Regions from separate parts of the Homo sapiens genome. Here region 1 is linked to region 2. The links are contacts of gene promoters, found by promoter capture Hi-C in blood cells and fetal thymus (Javierre and others, 2016). All regions are on one chromosome and are shown on one strand. Each heading gives the region's core, a stretch centred on a gene start or on the middle of the fragment in contact. The rest is flanking DNA. Distances are from core to core; before and after follow the strand shown. Region 1 holds the start of SMARCC1 (SWI/SNF related BAF chromatin remodeling complex subunit C1). Region 2 holds the start of CSPG5 (chondroitin sulfate proteoglycan 5).

Region 1 (2,707 bases), core at 99-2,598, 200 kb before region 2:
TAATATATTTTACTGTCCGTGACACAGCCCTCAGGAGATCCTGAAAACATGTACACACCCTCATTTTTAAAAGATCTCAGAAACTTACCAGCAGTTAGTCACGTTCTCACAAGCAATTAGTTACTTGCTTCTCTGCGATCATATAGCATTATGTTCACAACTCCATTATGGCCAGTCATACTTTTTATGTTTCTGAAACAGGGTTTCGCTCTGTCGCCCAAGCTGAAGTGTAGTGAGTGGCGCGATTATAGCTCACTGCAGCCTCCATCTCCCCAGCTCAAGGGATCCTCCCACCTCAGCCCTCCAAGAGGCTAGGACCACAGGCTTGCAACACAACGCTGGCTGATTTTTGTATTTTTTGTAGAGACGGGGATGGGTGTGGTGGTCTAGAGCTCCTGGGCTCAATTGATCCTCCCGCCTCAGCCTCCCAAAGTGCTCCGCACCCGGCCAATATACCTTGTTAATAATTTAAAAATTTTCGGCTTCTATGTGGGCCATTCATTAACTCATCAAGTATTTACTGTACATCTGTTCCTTGTCTCAGGTGTTCAGGATACACCTGTGAACAAGTTAAGATTAGGTTCTCATGTAATTTATGTGGAAGGTAAATGAGAAACTAGAAACGCCGGGTCGTGGTGAGCGCTATGCAGAAAGTGTATGGGTGTGAACAGTTGTTCAAGATTGTTAAGATCTGACAACTACTTTCTGAAGTCCTTTGAAGCAGTGAATCTGAACGCGTCTCGTAAGTGCAAATCAGAAGGGAAGACCTGCTGAGGTCTCGAAAGAGCCAGTGCAAGGGCCCCTGGGGCAGGAATGAGCCGCTGTGGCTGGACCCCTGAGGGAGTGGAAGGTCTGTGAAGCCGAAAAGCCTAGGCGTGGGAGTCCCAGATGGCTGTTCACAAATGCCGCCGGGCCGCTGGGGGTGGAGGGCCTGAGGGAAAGCGGGGCCCGGCGCAGTCCCAGTCCGGGTGCAGGGCCCTCGGCCAGCACTCGATACCCTAGACAGGCTTTCCCTTGGGCATTTCTCGCACCAGGCCTTTTCCCTCCAGCGGAGGCGGGCTATGACACATAACCCACCTGCGGTTGTTGACCGCATAATGATTCGACGTCGGTAGCGAGGGAAGAGCAAGGCTCAAAAACCGGCGCTCACTAGGGCAGAATGCAGCCTACGGAGGATGGCGGAAGAGGCGGCTGAGGCCGCAGGACGTGCTATTCCAAGGCACGGCCGCACGAGTGCTACGCATGCGCGTGCGCTGGCTCGCGTCAGATACAGTGCCAGTTCCCAGATGGGGCGGGGCCGGGCGTCCGCGCCGGAAGAGGGTTGGCTGGGCGGGGCCGGGAAGCGGCAGTGGCGGCTACGCGCGCGGGGGTGCGCGCGGGAACGACCGGGAAACACCGCGAGGGCCGGGGTGGGCCAGGCTGTGGGGACGACGGGCTGCGACGATGGCCGCAGCGGCGGGCGGCGGCGGGCCGGGGACAGCGGTAGGCGCCACGGGCTCGGGGATTGCGGCGGCAGCCGCAGGCCTAGCTGTTTATCGACGGAAGGATGGGGGCCCGGCCACCAAGTTTTGGGAGAGCCCGGAGACGGTGTCCCAGCTGGATTCGGTGCGGGTCTGGCTGGGCAAGCACTACAAGAAGGTGGGTTCGCGCGCCCGTGGGGGCCGGGAGACCACGCGACCGGGGCCGGAGGCGGCAGCTGGCCTCGCGGGCCTCGGGCCGCCCCTCCCCCCCGCACGCCACGAGGGACAACAAAGGCAGGCGCCGGGCCCGCCACGCCCCCGCCGCCCGCTCTGGGCGCCCGCGATCCCGGGGCCTGACTGGGGTTCGGGGCTCTCTCCTCTGAGCCTACGCACCCATGGTGAAAGCCCCTGCTCAGTCTCGTGTGCCAGAGCAGGTCGAGCTCAGCCACTAAGCGAGTGTGACTCTCTCTCTTTTGTCAGCTGCCTTAGGTGTGTGAACAATGATCCCTAAAGACCGAGCAAGCGTGGTAAAAGCAGCTTCAAGTTTTGTTTAGAGCGTATTCAAAGTCTCGAGGGGGTTTGCTACCTGTTGTTGAATTGCTAAACGACTGGGATGATTGTATTCGTTAATTAATAACAGGCAATATGAATTCTAGGATGGATGAGAACTATTAACGACGGTTCTACCTCATCGTGCTTCTGGTTCTGTGTGGCGTGAGAGTTGATGGTCGCTTGTACGTAAAGTGTTCTAAAGGGAGGCCTTCCCCAAGAACCCAGTTTTTATTAGAGCACTTTTCTTGTGTCACCTTTATTTTCTTCGTAGTGTTTACCACATTTTGAAATTATTCATTTACTGATTTCTCCTACCTTTGGAACGGAAGTTCCGCCGAGTCAGTAGTTTTCAAAGTTTTGACTTAATCCTTTGTTTATAACAAATGTTTTTTTTTTTTCCAACTTCCCTTTTGTGTAAATATTCAGGAGGACTCCCTTAAAGGGTGTAATGAAGCAGGTAGCCGAAAAGGCTCCCCAGCCTCTGAAGTTTTCCTATCACCCTCTTTAGTTCTGTACTTTCTCCTATTGAGAATCATAGCACTGAAGCAAGGGCTTTGTTCACTGCAGTGTATCCGGGAACGTGGCTGATACTTATTGCCTTACCCTTAGTGGCTGCTTAGTAAATATTTGTTGAATGAATGAAAACATAAACTAGTTTAGGAACCTATTTTTTTGGCCTCAGCAGCTCAGTGAAG
Region 2 (2,874 bases), core at 135-2,634:
TGCCTTGCAGTCCAGTGAGGAATAACTGTAGATAAGATGAGATGATGGGCATTAAGTGTAACTGCTGAGAAGCCTTCATAGAGGGAAAGGTGATAAGAACTGAGTTTTTCTGGCATGAGGAGTTTACCAGGCAGGAGAGGTGGAGACGCTAGGCTAGGCAAATAGGCTGCAGCCATAGTTCTGCTGAGAAACAGGTTTTGAACCAAGGCAACTCCATCTGGAGATATGTATCAGAAAGATTAGGAGATAGAATCTCCATCTTGGTCACTTATTTGGTCTTCTAAGACAGCAATGGGACCGTCTCTTAAATACTGGAGTTGTCCTATCTCCTTGGGCTGATACCCTGAACTGTCATTTGGGTGAGTAACACATTAAGGGGTAGACGGTCGGTTTGGGGGAATAAACTAAGTAACTAGGTTGCGGTTCCTCCTGCCGACTAAGCAGACCTCCTGGTGCGTGGTCTTGGGTTGCCCTGTGAGCCCTGAAGCTGTGAATGGGCCCCACAGATCACTCTAAAGCCAAGCATCCATGTGTGCCCGGCTGGGGATCTAGACCCCCCTGGTCTACCCAGGAACCTGAGTTTTGGTGGTCTGAGACACCTGGGGGACGACGTATCCCGGAGAAGGGACCAGGATTAAAGGCCGCTCCCCAGGCTGCCCGGAGACTAGAAGGAAGGCGAGGTAGCCGCAGTCCCAGGGAGGGTCTTACCCCTTGCTCCCGGGATGCGTTATGGCGGGCCTGGCTGTGCGAGATCTAGGCTAGTGGCTTTGGCTGCGAACGGATTAGATCTGATCCGATTAGAGCCTGGGCGGTCGGCTTCGCCCCCTTGCCAGGCTCTGCCAACGCCCGCCCCTCCCTCGTGGAGACCCGGAGACCTCCCTGAGAGCCTTCCCGCCCGGAACACGGGATTGGTGCAGAATCCGAGAGGCTCCATGCGCCCCGGGCCTGGCTTGTTTCCACAGTGGGGGCTCGTGCTTCCGCCCCCTGCGGCTCTTCTGGACCCCGCCCCGACCCTGCGGGTAACTGGGCCCGCGACGTCCCCGCCTCCGTGCTTGCCGCGTGGCGGGTGGGTTCCTCCGGGTCGGGGCCCCGTGCCGCCTGTTCACCTGGGGCGGGACCGTGGCCCCATCCCACAGGTCTCCCGCCCGTGCACCTGCCGCCTAACGCCGCGCGCCGCGCCGTGCGCCTGCCTCGCGCTCCCCGTCCGCCTGCCCCGCACTCCCCGTCCGTGTGTCTCCTAGTCCCCAGCGAGGGGTCTGTCTGTTCCCCTGGCAGGCTGACCAAGGGGCCGGCGTCACCGCTACGTGCGGCGGGGCCGGCGCGGCGGGCGGGGTGAGGGCGGCGCTGAGCGCAGCGGCGGCAGCGGCGGCGCGGGAGGCGGGGAGGCGCGGCGCGCCGGGGACAGCGGCGGACGGCGGCGGCGGCGGCATGCGGCTCCTCGCGCTGCCCATCGTGGGCTGAGGCGGCCGCAGAACCGGCGGGAGGCGCGGCGGCCGGGCGAGCCGAGGGCGCAGCCAGCCGGGCGGACCGCGGACAGCGGTCGGGGCGCCGCGCCATGGGGCGAGCCGGGGGCGGGGGCCCGGGCCGGGGGCCGCCGCCACTGCTGCTGTTTCTGGGGGCCGCGCTGGTCCTGGCCTCTGGGGCCGTGCCGGGTAGGTATGACTGCGCCCGGGACCCCCGCGGCCCTCGTGCCCCACCCAGGGCAGGGGTCCCGCTGGCGGCGGGGACAGGTGGAGCTGTGAGCTGTGGCAAGGGGGCGGGGCACCGCCTGGCCGCGGCCGGGCGGCGGAATGGTCCCAGGAGGTGGTGGGGGTCCGGGAAAGGCCGACCCGCGTGGGGGCCGACCCCGGTTGGGGTAGCCGGGACCCAAGCGCGCGGGCCGCGGTGCGGACTGGGGGCGGGGCCGGGGGCGGGGCCGGGGCGGGGCCGGGGCGGGGCCTGAGGGTGAGACTTCGGGGCGGGACCTGGAGCTGAGGGCGGGAGCCAGTGGACGCGGCTCAGGGTGGGTTCCCGAGGGTGAGACTTATGGGTGGGCCGAGCTGGGGGCCGCCCTGGCCTGGCTCTTCAGACGGCGGGGCAGGTCGGGCGGGGCCGAGCCGCGAGGCGTTGGGCGGGGTGTGATCCTCGTCTTGGGGGCAGACTCCGGGACGGGGCTTAGAGGTACCGGGTGGCTGGGGTCACACTGGGGCGGTGGGGTCTGAGGGTGGCGAGGTCTGGGTTGACCAGGTCTAGGCGAGCGGGCCTGACCGGGGCGGGCCGGGGCTCCAGGGCTCCTCAGCGCGCCGCCCTGACGTCCCGCCCCTTGCCCTCCCGCCCGCAGCGCGTGAGGCGGGCAGCGCGGTTGAGGCCGAAGAGCTGGTGAAGGGCAGCCCGGCGTGGGAGCCGCCTGCCAACGACACGCGGGAAGAAGCCGGCCCACCAGCGGCTGGGGAAGATGAGGCGTCGTGGACGGCGCCCGGTGGCGAGCTGGCCGGGCCAGAAGAGGTGCTGCAGGAGTCGGCTGCGGTGACCGGCACCGCCTGGCTGGAAGCTGACAGCCCAGGCCTGGGAGGAGTGACCGCAGAGGCGGGCAGCGGCGATGCCCAGGCCCTTCCAGCTACGCTCCAGGCTCCCCACGAGGTCCTCGGGCAGTCAATCATGCCCCCTGCCATTCCTGAGGCTACAGAGGCCAGCGGGCCACCCTCCCCCACCCCCGGCGACAAGCTGAGCCCAGCTTCTGAACTCCCCAAGGAGAGCCCCTTGGAGGTTTGGCTGAACCTGGGGGGCAGCACACCCGACCCTCAAGGGCCAGAGCTGACTTACCCATTTCAGGGCACCCTGGAGCCCCAACCGGCATCAGATATCATTGACATCGACTACTTCGAAGGACTGGAT

What was found. Contacts are between HindIII fragments. The CHiCAGO score rates a contact against its expected background, and 5 or more counts as called.
Region 1: the fragment with the promoter of SMARCC1 here is called in contact with the fragment with the promoter of CSPG5 in region 2 in 1 of 17 cell types (endothelial precursors); the score reaches 5.6 in endothelial precursors.

Annotation. Positions count from the first base shown.
Region 1 is chr3:47,780,534-47,783,240 of GRCh38, reverse strand. SMARCC1 (SWI/SNF related BAF chromatin remodeling complex subunit C1) reads left to right here and starts at 1,348. Exons shown (of 28, transcript NM_003074.4): 1 at 1,348-1,638. The coding sequence starts at 1,444. RefSeq lists silencers at 605-664, 775-824, 1,235-1,454, 1,635-1,874 and an enhancer at 1,108-1,402. The HindIII fragment of the contact is 14,461 bases long and covers 1-2,707 here.
Region 2 is chr3:47,577,375-47,580,248 of GRCh38, reverse strand. It overlaps CSPG5 (chondroitin sulfate proteoglycan 5), which reads left to right and starts at 1,384. Exons shown (of 5, transcript NM_006574.4): 1 at 1,384-1,652; 2 at 2,321-2,874. The coding sequence starts at 1,556. RefSeq lists an enhancer at 55-759 and silencers at 1,884-1,933, 1,974-2,033, 2,084-2,173. The HindIII fragment of the contact is 13,333 bases long and covers 1-2,874 here.